Linked DNA regions of Homo sapiens: regions 2 and 3 are each linked to region 1. The links are contacts of gene promoters, found by promoter capture Hi-C in blood cells and fetal thymus (Javierre and others, 2016). All regions are on one chromosome and are shown on one strand. The core of a region is centred on a gene start or on the middle of the fragment in contact, and the rest is flanking DNA. Distances in the headings are between cores, read along the strand shown.

Region 1 (4,282 bases), core at 476-2,975:
TTGACTGTCTCTCTGCTGCAGTTATGTGTGTTCATGTCTTAACTCTTTCTGGGCTGTTTGTTAAGTCTCCTTGATGGCTATCTTTGGAGTTTTTAAAATATTTTATTTTTTATAATTTTAAAATAGAGACGAGGTCTCACTGTATTGCCTAGGCTGGTCTTAAATGCCTGAGCTCAAGCCATCCTCCTGCCTCAGCCTCCCAAAGTGCTGGGATTACAGGCATGAGCCACTATACCTGGCCTAATGGTTATCTTTGTATCCTTTATCAACACAGTGCCTTGAACAGAGTAAATACTTATTGAAAACTTGAGTGAAATGTAAGTTCATATTTGGCCTCACAGAATACACCAGTAATACAGCAATCACTCACCTGAGGACAGTGGGAGGATAGAAGGTAAGTAGAGGACTGGGTTAAGTATTCGTTCAAGCAAATACATTAATTACACGCCTCCCATGTACTTGACACTGGGAACTCAGCAATGAAGAAGGCCCAGACCAAAGTTCAGGCTTTTAGCTTCCTGTCCTATAAAGGATAAGATTCTTAACTCTAGGCTGAGGTAGTAAATTACGAGGGGACTTCAAAATGGTACAGGGTGGTTGAGCAGGATACGGCAATGGTTAAGTTTGATCAGAAAATAGAAATCAAAAGGAAAATGTGGCTATGGTTACCCCTAGCGGACCTCTTAAATCTTCCTGAGAACCTGCTTTTTTGGGAAGGCATGAGTGCCAGTAAGACTTGGCACTCCTCCTCTTCCGCTTACCGAGAGAAAATGACTTTGCCTTTCTGCTCAAAACTCATCCCTTCACTTTGTCACCCTATGTTTGCATCTTCCATCCTTAGTGTGTGTTTCCATCCAGTCTTTCAGCAATACACGTACTACACATTGGACTCTTGGGTAGTCTCTAGGGCTGTAGCAAGGAGCCTTGCTCCCAAGGGACTCATTTACACAATCCTGTGAACGGACCAAGAGTAAACAGTGTGCTCAATGCTGTGCCTACGTGTGTTAGCCCACGCGGCCAGCCTGAGGAGTCAGGGAAGGCTCCCCTAGGCAAAGCCCCCAACCAGAATCAAGTCTTAATGGTTAAAGAGCTCCATCACCCAAAAAGGATTGAGGGCCTACCTTCAACTGAACAGCTAATGCATAATCTCAGAAACTGTGAGTCAAAATTCCCTGGAATAACTCCACTTTATCCCCAATCTCCTTGCCACCTAGACCAAGGTCCATTCACCACCCTGTCCCCAGCACTGACTGCACTGCTGTGGCCACACTAAAGCTTGGCTCAAGACGGAGGAGGAGTGAGGAAGCTGCTGCACCAATATGGCTGGTTGAGGCCGCCCAAGGTCCTAGAAGGAGGAAGTGGGTAAATGCCATATCCAAAAAGATACAGAAGCCTCAGGTTTTATCGGGGGCAGCAGCTTCCTTCTCCTTCCCCGACCTGTGGCCAAGTCACAAAGCACCACAGCTGTACAGCCAGATGGGGGAAGGGAGGAGATTAGAACTGTAGGCTAGAGTAGACAAGTATGGACCAGTTCACAATCACGCTATCCCAAGCAGAAAGTGATGGTGGCTTGGACTAGCACGGTGGTAGTAGAGATGGGGTAAAGATTCAAGAGACATCATTGATAGGCAGAACCAATAGGACATGGTAATAAACTATTCTCAGGAAAGGGGAGGAGTCATGGCTTTCAGCCATGAGCATCCACCCTCTGGGTGGCCTCACCCACTTCCTGGCAATTCTAGCCACCATGAGTCCAGGGGCTATAGCCCTTTGCTCTGCCCGTTGCTCAGCAAGTTACTTGGGGTTCCAGTTTGATAAGAAAAGACTTCCTGTGGAGGAATCTGAAGGGAAGGAGGAGGAGCTGGCCCATTCCTGCCTGGGAGGTTGTGGAAGAAGGAAGATGGCCAGAGCTTTGTGTCCACTGCAAGCCCTCTGGCTTCTGGAGTGGGTGCTGCTGCTCTTGGGACCTTGTGCTGCCCCTCCAGCCTGGGCCTTGAACCTGGACCCAGTGCAGCTCACCTTCTATGCAGGCCCCAATGGCAGCCAGTTTGGATTTTCACTGGACTTCCACAAGGACAGCCATGGGAGGTGAGCCGTAAGGGAAGTTGGGGTATTGGGAGAGAGCAGGACCCCTCCCCATCACTGCTTCTGGGGGCTTCGAGTTTCCCATTTGCGATAGCAGTTGAGCAAGGTGACTTGTGGGGCCTATTCAGGTTGATTTCTTGTCAAGAATGTTGGGGTCCAGGGGACTGGCTCAGGTGAAGGTATAAGGGCAGGGCACATGTGGGCTGATGGGCACTGAAAACTACAGCAAGAACAAAGGGAAGACAAGAGTTGATGCTTTATTTTTTCCCCAAGGGTCAGTTGTATGAACCACTCCACCCTCAACACCTTGAAATGCAGAGAGGAGGCCGGGCGCGGTGGCTCATGCCTGTAATCCCAGCACTTTGGGAGGCCGAGGCGGGCAGATCACCTGAGGTCGAGAATTCGAGACCAGCCTGACCAACATGGAGAAACCCCGTCTCTACTAAAAATACAAAAAAAAAAAAAAAAAAGAGACCAGGCACAGTGGCTCACACCTGCAATCCCAGCACTTTGGGAGGCAGAGGTGGGCAGATCATGAGGTCAGGAGTTCAAGACCAGCCTGGCCAATATGGTGAAACCCTGTCTCTATTAAAAATACAAAAATTAGCTGAGCGTGGTGGCACACTCCTGTAGTCCCAGCTACTCGGGAGGCTGAGGTAGGAGAATCACTTGAACCCGGGAGGTGGAGGTTGCAGTGAGCTGAGATCATGCCACTGCACTCCAGCCTGGGTGACAGAGTGACACTCCGTCTCAAAAAAAAAAAAATTAGCCGGGCGTGGTGCCGCATGCTTGTAATCCCAGCTACTCGGGAGGCTGAGGCAGGAGAATCGTTTGAACCTGAGAGGCAGAGGTTGTGGTGAGCCGAGATCATGCCATTGCACTCCAGCCTGGGCAACGAGAGCGAAACTCTGTCTCAAAAAAAAAAAAAAAAAAAAAAGAAAGGAAATGTGGAGAGGAGCACATGTCCTAAATTGATTTGCAGAACTAAAGTTGTCTACCCTCCCGCACCTTGCATTTCTGTTCCATTTCCCTCATCTCCATCAACATTATAAATATTTGAAAAGAAGCAATAGGTCATTAATGATTAGTATTGATCAGGCTTCAGAATCAAGAGTGCCAAGATTAGAGTCTTGGCTCCTCCTCTTCATAGCGTGTACCCTGAGCTACTATTGTGAGAGACACTGTGCCCACCAGCTTCAGGGAGTGGCAATGGGTGGCAATGGCAGATAGCCTTCAAGTGTCAGCCACTTAGGGGATTTCCTCTGCTGAAGAGAGCCAGTTCACTCCAAGTCCCCTCCCAAGATGGCCCACATCCAGTGTCTGATCAATGAGAAGTGGGTGAGTGGGGAGAGTGGAGGCAGGTGTGGGGGAGGCATTTGATAAGGGTCCAGCCCTCTTTCATCAACTCTGACAATTCTTTTTTTCTTCTTCTTCTTTTTTTTTTTTTTTTTTTTTTTTTTTTGAGATGGGGTTTCGCTCTTGTTGCCCAGGCTGGAGTGCAATGGCACAATCACTGGCTCACCGCAACTTCTGCCTCCCGGGTTCAAGCGATTCTCCTGCCACAGCCTCCCGCGTAGCTGGGATTACAGGCATGTGCCACCACACCCGGCTAATTTTGTATTTTTAGTAGAGACGAGGTTTCTCCATGTTGGTCAGGGTGGTCTCGAACTCCCAACTTCAGGTGATCCACCCGCCTTGGCCTCCCAAAGTGCTGGGATTACAGGCTTCAGCCACCATGCCCAGACTTTTTTTCTTCTTTTTTTTTGAGATGGAGTTTCGCTCTCGTTGCCCAGGCTGGAGTGCAATGGGGTGATCTCGGCTCACTGCAACCTCTGCCTCCTGGGTTCAAACGATTCTCCTGTCTCAGCCTCCCGAGTAGCTGGGATTACAGGTGCATGCCACCATGCCCGGCTAATTTTTGTATTTTTAGTAGAGACAGGGTTTCACTATGTTGGCCAGGCTGGTCTCAAACTCCTGACCTCAGGTGATCAGCCTGCCTCGGCCTCCCAAAGTACTGGGATTACAGGCGTGAGCCACCACACCCGGCCAACTCTGACAATTTTGAAGGGTCATTCTAGTTCCAAAGCTCGTGGGGTGTTGGCGAATGCTGTCATTGGGCCTGAATCAGCTCAACTCCTTCCTGTGCCCACTCCTGCTGATTTCCCCTCCTATAAGTAGTGATCCCATTGGCACTACT
Region 2 (4,282 bases), core at 818-3,317, 240 kb before region 1:
GAATTGTTTGAACCCAGGAGGCAGAGGCTGCAGTGAGCTGAGATGGCGCCATTGCACTCCGACTGGGTGATGGAGTGAGACTCTGCCTCAAAAAAAAAGCAATAGAAACAATATCATTGTTAGTTTTATTTGTATCGTTTTTCTGGATTACTAATGAGGTTAAACATATTTTCATATGTCTATTGACCACTCAGAATTCCTTTCTAAATTATCCATTCTTATTTTCTTTTCATTTTCTTTCTTTTTGCTTTTTTTCTTTTTTGAGACAGTCTTCCTCTGTCGCCCAGGCTGGAGTACAGTGGCAATGGCGCGATCTCAGCTCACTGCAGCCTCCACCTCCCAGACTCAAGCCATCCTCCCACTTCAACCTCCTGAGTAGCTAGGAGCACAAGCACATGCTACCACACCTGGCTAGTTTTTGTATTTTTTTGTAGAGACAGGGTCTCACCACGTTGCCCAGGCTTGTCTCAAACTCCTGGGCTCAAGCAATCCAATCGACCGAGCCTCCCAAAGTGCAGGGATTACCATGCCTGGCCTCCCTGCTGATTTTAACGGTCTTCGTTAGCATATACTAAATCCCCATATAAAAAAAAAATAAAAAGAAACAAACAAAAAAATCCCCATATATATTTAAATCTGCCTCTGGACTCCATTCTTTCCTTTCCTATTTCTGTACCAATCTCATATTGCTTTAATTTGCATAGGTTAAAAAAATTTCTAATATCTGGTAGGGGTACTCCTTTAAAAATTGTTTGTTTGTTTGAGACAGGCTCTCACTCTGTCACCCAAGCTGGAGTGCAGTGGCGTGATTTCGGCTCACCGCAACCTCCATCTCCCAGGTTCAAGCGATTCTTCTGCCTCAGCCTCCCGAGTAACGGGGATTACAGACGCACGTCACCACGCCCAGCTAACTTTTCTATTTTTTGGTAGAGACAGTGTTTCGCCATGTTGGCCAGGCTGGTCTCGAACTCCTGACCTCAAGTGATCTGCCCACTTTGGCCTCCCAAAGGGCTGGGATTACAGGCGTAAGCCACTGTGCCAAGCCAAATAGCTTTTTTAAAATTTTATTTTTACTTCTTTTTTTTTGAGACCAAGTCTCTTTCTGTCGCCTAGGCAGGAGTGTAGTGGCGCCATCTCAGCTCACTGCAACCTGTGCCTCCTGGGTTCAAGCTATTCTCCTGTCTCAGCCTTCAAAGTAGCTGGGACTACAGGCATGCGCCACCACACCCAACTAATTTCTATATTTTTAGTAGAGACAGGGTTTCGCCATGTTGGCCAGGCTGGTCTCAAATTCTTGGCCTCATGTGATCCGCCCACCTCAGCCTCCCAAAGTGATGGGATTACAGGTGTGAGCCACCACACCTGGCCTATTTCTAAATTTCTATGAATTTTTAAATTGAGGTGAAATTGTAGCATAAAGTTAACCATTTTAAAGTGAACAATTCAGTGATATTTAGCACATTCACAATGTCATGTAACCATCACCTCCATCTAGTTCCAAAACATTTCATCGCCCCAAAACAAAACTCTATATTCATTAGGCAGTTTTTCCCATTTCACCCTCTCCACACATTTTTAACACATAAAAAATAAACTTGTTATAAAATCCCAAGCTTCAGGTTTACCAGGTATTAAGGAAGCTTAAAAATCAAGTCCCAGTTCAGAATCATACAGGTTTTCCAGATTTAGATCGTCCTCCGGCAGGGTGTCTGCATCCTCCAAGCATGATTCTACATCCCCAGTAGCCCAAGACTCAATTTGGATTCTGAAAATTTGCTGCTAAATTGCTTTGTGATTCTTCTCAAGTGTCTATGACTTCTGTTGTCTCTTGAACAACCTTGTTTTTGTTGTTGTTAATGTTTTTTGTTTGTTTTTGAGACAGGGTATCTCTCTGTCACCCAGGCTGGAGTGCAATGGTGCAATCGAGGCTCACTGCAGCCTCCACCTCCCGGGCTCAATCAATCCTCCTGCCTTAACCTCCCAAGCAGCTGGGACTACAGGTGCATGCCACCATGCCTAGCTAATTTTTTATTTTTATTTTTAGTAGAGATGAGGTCTCACTATGTTGCCCAGGCTGGTCTCAAACTCCTGGACTCAAGCAATCCTTCTGCCTCAGCCTCCCAAAGTGCTGGGATTACAGGTGTGAGACACTGTGTCTAGCCTTGAACAATCTTGCAAACCCTCTACTTTTTTTTCTTTTCCCCTGCCCACCCATCCATAGCATCTGGCACTGGCTTTGTACCATCACATGCCCATCAAATTATTGTTGATTGATTTCTTTCAAAATTTCCATATTAGACCCTCATCAGCGTGTCAGGAGACTGTCTGGGGCATGATTTAAGTGGGAGTTGAATTAAGAAATTTCAACACACTGTATCTTACTTTCAGATAATATGACACTACTGGTTGCCATTTATTTAAGTGCCTATTAATTGTCATACCCTACAAATGGTTTTATTTAATTCTTATAACAATCTCATGCAGCGGAAGCTTACTGATGATATTCACAGAGGTTAAGTGACTTGCCTAAAGTCCCTGGGCTTAATTGTCAGAGCCAAGCTTTGAACCCAGTTTTGTCTGACTACACAGCACTTTCTAACATGCTATATTGCCTCCATATACTTTCTCCATCAAAGCCCACCCATCATGTTATCCAGGTTTGTTTTTACTTCATTGTCATAGTCATGTTTGCCTAGAGGGAGCATCCAAGCCCTCCTGCTGAGGTATATGATGGAGATACTCAAGAAGCACCACAGAATCATTGCTTCTCTCACAGGTGACCTTACTTCCTGCCCTGGCCAAGCTATCAAGGATCAAGTTAATTCCTCGCTTTACTATGTTCTAGATAGTAAACCACGTTGGGCTGGCACGGTGGCTCATGCCTGTAATCCCAGCACTTTGAGAGGCCACGTAGGGAGCATCCCTTGAGTCCAGGAGTTCAAGACCAGCTTGGGCAACATAGGGAGACCCTGTCTCTACAAAAAATAACAAAAAATTAGCTGGGCGTTAGGCATGCATCTGTGGTCCTAGCTACTCGAGAGGCTGAGGTGGGAGGATCACTTAAGCCCAGTTACTTGAGCCAGGGAAGTCGAGGCTGCAGTGAGCTGGGATTGCCCCACTGCAGTCTGGCCTAGGCAACAGAGGAGACCCCGTCACCAAAAAAAAAAAAAAAAAAAAAAAAAAGTGTGCCGGATGGAGTCCCATACTGTCTGGCCCACGTGTTATAACTGTCACCTTAGCTAGAGCTGGAGCAAGAATATGGAATTGAATCCAGGCTCAGCCTCCACTGTAAGGATGGGAGACATTATTTTCCTAAGGAAGAGAATCCCAGTGAGTGCCTGGGAGCTCCATCTCTTCCCAATCTGCCCATACTTGGCCTCTTCCTATTTCCTGTCTTCTAAAAATGTATGAAATTCAGGGATGTTAGAGAGTGCTATTTGGAGAAATTAAGTTTAAATGAATCAGAAACACATGGATTGGCTTTCCCTCAGAAGAGACTCACATTTTAAAACGGAAAGGAAAATATATGGGACGAAGACCAGATGGGATTTTAAGTATGGAAGAAGGGTTGGATTGTTTCAGCAAATCCTAATCAGTTGGGCACACCCAGCTCTAGCTCCCCTTCACAGCTGCAAAGACAGGTCACCTCTGGGATGGTATGGTCCTGGATGTGTGTTCTCAGAGGACAGAGGCCCTGGATGTGGAATTAGAGGGCATGAGTTCATGATGAAGCAATGTCACTTAGCAGCTCTTATGGCCTTGCCACTGGACATTTGGCCCTTGTAGGGCGTGGTGGCTCACGCTTGTAATTCAGCACTTTGTGGGGATGAAGTGGTCAGATTGCTTGAGCTCAGGAGTTTGAGACCAGCCTAGGCAACATGGCGAGCCCCCTTCTTTACAAAAAATACAAAAATTAACGGGGTGTGGTGGTGTGCACCTGCAGTCCCAGCTACTCACTCAGGAGGCTGAGGTGGGAGGATGGCTTGAGCCTGGGGGGCAGAGGTTGCAGTGAGCTGAGATCGCACCACTGCACTCCAGCCTGGGCAACATAACAAGACCCTGTCTCAAAAAAAATTTTTTTTTCTTATCTGCTTTAAAAAAGGGGGAGGAATTTATAACATCTTTACTACCTACTTGTATGGCTTTTGTGACATCATGGTTCCAGTTTGCCAAAAACTATTAAACCATTATTGTAATTTAGCTGCATAATAAAGACTTTGAGGAGGGTAATAAGTGATGAAAATGACCACATTAGGGCAAATAGGTTGACAATTTATAAAAT
Region 3 (4,282 bases), core at 669-3,168, 180 kb after region 1:
CACCTTTGTTTCTCCCCCATGTTCTGTCCCTTGCCCCCCTGGCCTCCCCCACTTTCTTTCTTTCTTTAAAAAAAAAAAAAAATACGGTGGGGGTAGGGGGCTGGAGGAGCCCAGGCCAGGACTCTGCAGCCTCAGAGACATCAGCCCTTGGGGGTCCTCCTCCAGGGACAGCAACTATCAGACTAAGCCAGCACCGGACCAGCCTGGCCCACCCCACCCACTTCTGCACTTGCGGTTCCGGCATGGACAATGGACCGGAGAGTGGGGGTGGGGGGTCCCAAAGAGTTTGATGAGGCCCTCCACACCTGCGGCCCAATCCAAGGTGGGGTGGAAGCTTGGGGAAGACCCATTCCTTCCCAGAGGGGCCTGCCACCTGGACCCCTGCATTGGAACTGGAGGCAGGGAACATGGGGAGGAGGAGGGTCGGTGCCTTCAAGAAAACAGGCACTGCCCTGGTGGCCCTCTCCCCTGCCCCCTGCAGGAAGGAGCTGCCTGGACCCGTTCATGGGGGAGGGGGCAGAAGTGTTTTTTATATATGTGTATATATTTTTTTTTAAGCTCTGAGCTGTCAACGAGACGTTTCCTACCGATCTCGGCTGCCGTCTCTGTTGTCATTTCTGGGAGAGGGAGGGTTTAGGGGTAGATTTGGAACCTTTTAAAAATGGTCTTGATGTATGTGGAAGAGAGTATGTGTATGTGTGTTCCTGTACATAGCATGGGTGCAGCTGTGGATGTGTGCAAAAGAGTGTGAGTGTGTGTGTGTGTGTGTAAAGGGGTCTGTCCTAGAGCCCACATCAGTTTGTTGTGAATCTGGAAAAAGGGTCGGTGAGGGCCGGGAGATGTTGACCCTGGTGGGAGCAGGCTGAGGCTGCCCCGTTCTCCACATCCTCTGTTTTGCCCAGTCTCTGATTCCATTAGGGGGAGTGTGCTGAAGCCATTCTCGGATGCTTCCCAGACCAGGCTCCCTCTGCCAGAGTCACATGCATCCGAGCTGCTGGTCTCCATTGTCCAGCAGGAAGGCGGAAAGGCAGGCAAGATGGTGTGAAGCTTAAAGCTTGTATTTGATGGAAAAGGTCTCCCCTGTTCATCTGAGAGGCCAAGCCTGGCCACCCCAGGCTCAGAACCTGGGCTTCAAGAAATGTGCTGGGAGCTCCTAACTTACACATCCCTCCAGCCTTCCTTGAATCCTCCCACCACCCCCTATTTCCTTTAATTTCTCAGGTCTGCTCCCTCCTCCCCCAACCCCACAGCTGGGCAAGAAGTCTGCAAAAGCTGCATCTGCAGCTGTCTCTAACTCTTCCCAGCCATCTCCCGTATTTTTTGGTACCTTGATTCCTTGACTCTTAATAAGCCAAGCCACCTTATCTCTGTAGTTCTTATTTTTTTGTTGACTAAATTTGGGGGGTTCTTTTTTATGGTCATGTCACTGACCTATTAAATTGGGGCTTGGTGCTTTTCCACCTTCCCCCTCTGAATGAAAGCCAAGGAATGGGGGAAGAGCGGGAACTCTGCCGCGGAGGTGGAGCAAGAACGGTGAAGGGCCCTGGTCCCAGAGAGGCTGGTGGGTCCCTCTCCCAAAGGAAGGCAGACAGTCTCTGCTTTGCCTTGGACCTTGGTGCTGGGGGTGGGGAGGCCTGGGGGGGACACTCCCCACTCCCATTCCCCTTCCTTTGTCCTAATCCTGGAATTAAGTACAGGGGTTTATAGGTTCTATTTCTTCCCAAGAGCCCTGCAAAGAACCCCAGTTTCCTATTTGGATGCCCCTACACTGTTGTGTTTCAGTGGAATGTATTTTCATTTAAAAACAACTTTGAATGGGGCACTTTTTCTTTCCTGTTTTAAAAATTGAAAAATTCTTACAGTACAAACAGGACTGTCAGGGTGGGGGTGTTGGTGCTGTAAGAGGTCACTCTTGAGTGCATTTTGGCACTGGGATGGGATGGCTGGGGTGGGAAGACCCCCATCCCCACCCCCAACTTCTTTTCTAATATTTAAGGAGTGTTTTGTAGGATTCAACAACCACCACAACTTGAATTTGTATCATGGGAGGTGGGAGGGAGTGGCTTAGAGGTGTCTGCCTATGCTTAAAGCCAACTGTGGAAGTTTTGTTTTCCCTTTTTTGTATAATAAAGTGAAAAACAAAGGTTTGACTGCTGTCTGGTCACTGGAATCAATGAAGGTTCACAGGGGTGACCCAACAGGTTTGATCTATAAAAATGCTTGAAGCCAATTTGCCTTTTCTTCCTAGAACTATCTTCCTCTTCCCTAAAGATTCCATAGGCAACCTACCTTCACATTGTTCTGTGCTACTGTTCTTGCCCTTTTCTCAATTCCATTTGTTCACCTTGGGTTGTGAGACCACTAAAGATTCTGAGAAGTTGGAGAACAAATGCATTTTCACCCAAAGTACATGGTCTTGGGGAATTGGAGGTGATGAGCTACTAGGGTCAAGGGTTCGCCCTGGGCATGCAAGCCTTCCTAGTGTAGGGCTTATCGTGGGGAGTTGAGGGAGCACGCTCTCACTTTGAGCCTTCAGCTCCATCCCAGGTTAAAGGTTAAGGGTTAAGGATGACTTTCCTAGGACCATCTAGGCCTCTGATGGGAAGCAGGCTGGGCTGGGCTGAGATGACTCACTCTCTGAGATTAAGGGAAGACACCCTTTCCTGCGCAGGCCTTGGCTGGGTTCCTGGAACCTCAAAGGGCTGCAGACCCAGGTCCTGTCGGAGAACTCTCTCCCAGCCCTTGCCCCTATCCTATAGTGGCCAAACTGCTAAAAAGCTTGTTGTGCCTCTTGGCCTCCCACTTACCACCATCCTTTGAGGTTCCTTGCTAAGGTCACCAACATGTTCATTACATCTGGTGAACACTTGTCTTGTCTTTTGCCTTCTTGGTCTACTCTGTTGGTGTCAGCTCTTCCTCATTTTATCCCAGGTGTTCATGTCTCTCCCTTCAACCTCCCATTATCACGCATATGCAACCATTCCGAAAGGTGGTGCCGACAGAGACTGCTCTTCCAAGCTGCAGACCTGTGTAGACACCCTTGCATCCCCTGGGATATCTTGCAGACATCTCATACCTCAAGACCCGAAATGATTACCAAACACTTAGTCGTTCAACCTAGAAAGCAGAGTATTGGCCTTGACTCCTCTCTCCCTTTCACCTCGAGGTTCAATCACCTAGACCTCTCCATTCCACTTCCTAAAGCTGTCTCAAATCTGTCGACCCCTCCCACAGGGTGGCTCCCACAGCTGCCACTCCCATCCTATTTCAGGCCACCATCATTGCTCAACTTCTGCAAAGACCTCCTAAAGCTGGTCTTCCTGCTTCCACTCTCGCCCCCTACAGCCCATTCTTCACATGGCAGCCAAAATTATCTCAGAAATAAATCTGATTATTTCTGTACTGAAAATTTACCATGTCTTACCATGGCCCTACAAGGCTTGGCCCCCGCATTCCTTCTCTTATCTTCTCTCACCCTGCTCTTCCTAACCACTTACAACGATCCAACCAAGTGATCTCTTCTGTTCCTCAAACATGCCTACCTGCGGGGTCTTGGCACCTGTTCTCTCTGCCTAGAATGGCTATTCCTCCAACTCTACACATACCTGATTTTTTTTTTTCATTCTTTAAGCCTCAACTCACATGTCCTCTCACAGAGAAGCCTTTCCCAACCACCTGCTCTAGAGAGGCCTCCTCCATCTTCTTGTTTATGTATTTGTTTATTATCTATCTCCCCAAGTAGAAGACACCTTATCTGCTTGTTCATTACAGTAATCTCAGCACCTGAAACTGCCTGATATACATTTGACAATCAAGAAAGATTTGCTGAGTGGGTGAATAGGTCTGGCCCACAAGGCCCTTGGGGATCTGCTGCCCCCGTTAGCCCTCCCCCGACTCTAGCCACACTGACCATTCATGTCTCGAACATAACATGCTCTCTCCTAGGGCCTATACACATGGTGTTCTCTCTGCCTAGTTAATTCTGGTCTCCACTTAAAAGACCACTTCCTTCCCTGAACTCCTGAGAAAAAAGGTCTCCACACTATACGTTTCTTCAGCAGCCTGAATGCCTTCACACTCAGGCCTTATTTCCTTCACATCAGGCCTTGCTAGGCTGTAAGCTGCGCTAGGACAAGGTTTGTGTGTCTCTCTTGCTTGTTGCTGTAACCCCAGGGCCTCACCCAGAGTCAGGACCAGCTCAGGCCTTAGTGTTTATGAACTGGTGCTAACTGTGGAGACTGGGCACGTGCCCAAAGAGGTCACCACCACAGAGCAGCCCAGG

What was found. The method cuts DNA at HindIII sites, captures the fragments that hold promoters and counts their contacts. A CHiCAGO score of 5 or more calls a contact.
Region 2: a fragment that was not itself captured here is called in contact with the fragment with the promoter of ITGA2B in region 1 in 3 of 17 cell types (endothelial precursors, M2 macrophages and M1 macrophages); the score reaches 6.9 in endothelial precursors.
Region 3: a contact is called between a fragment that was not itself captured here and the fragment with the promoter of ITGA2B in region 1, in 3 of 17 cell types (megakaryocytes, erythroblasts and M1 macrophages). The highest score is 7.0, in megakaryocytes.

Annotation. Positions count from the first base shown.
Region 1 is chr17:44,387,092-44,391,373 of GRCh38, reverse strand. It overlaps ITGA2B (integrin subunit alpha 2b), which reads left to right and starts at 1,725. Exons shown (of 30, transcript NM_000419.5): 1 at 1,725-2,088. The coding sequence starts at 1,901. RefSeq lists an enhancer at 1,509-1,568. The HindIII fragment of the contact is 14,706 bases long and covers 1,278-4,282 here.
Region 2 is chr17:44,630,356-44,634,637 of GRCh38, reverse strand. No RefSeq gene overlaps it. Among named protein-coding and RNA genes, the nearest start is that of LINC01180, 18 kb to the left of the region's middle. The HindIII fragment of the contact is 850 bases long and covers 1,643-2,492 here.
Region 3 is chr17:44,202,901-44,207,182 of GRCh38, reverse strand. It overlaps UBTF (upstream binding transcription factor), which reads left to right. Exons shown (of 21, transcript NM_014233.4): 21 at 1-2,143. The region is part of intron 1 of ATXN7L3-AS1 (ATXN7L3 antisense RNA 1); the gene reads right to left. Among named protein-coding and RNA genes, the nearest start is that of MIR6782, 2.8 kb to the left of the region's middle. RefSeq lists an enhancer at 1-220. The HindIII fragment of the contact is 1,724 bases long and covers 1,057-2,780 here.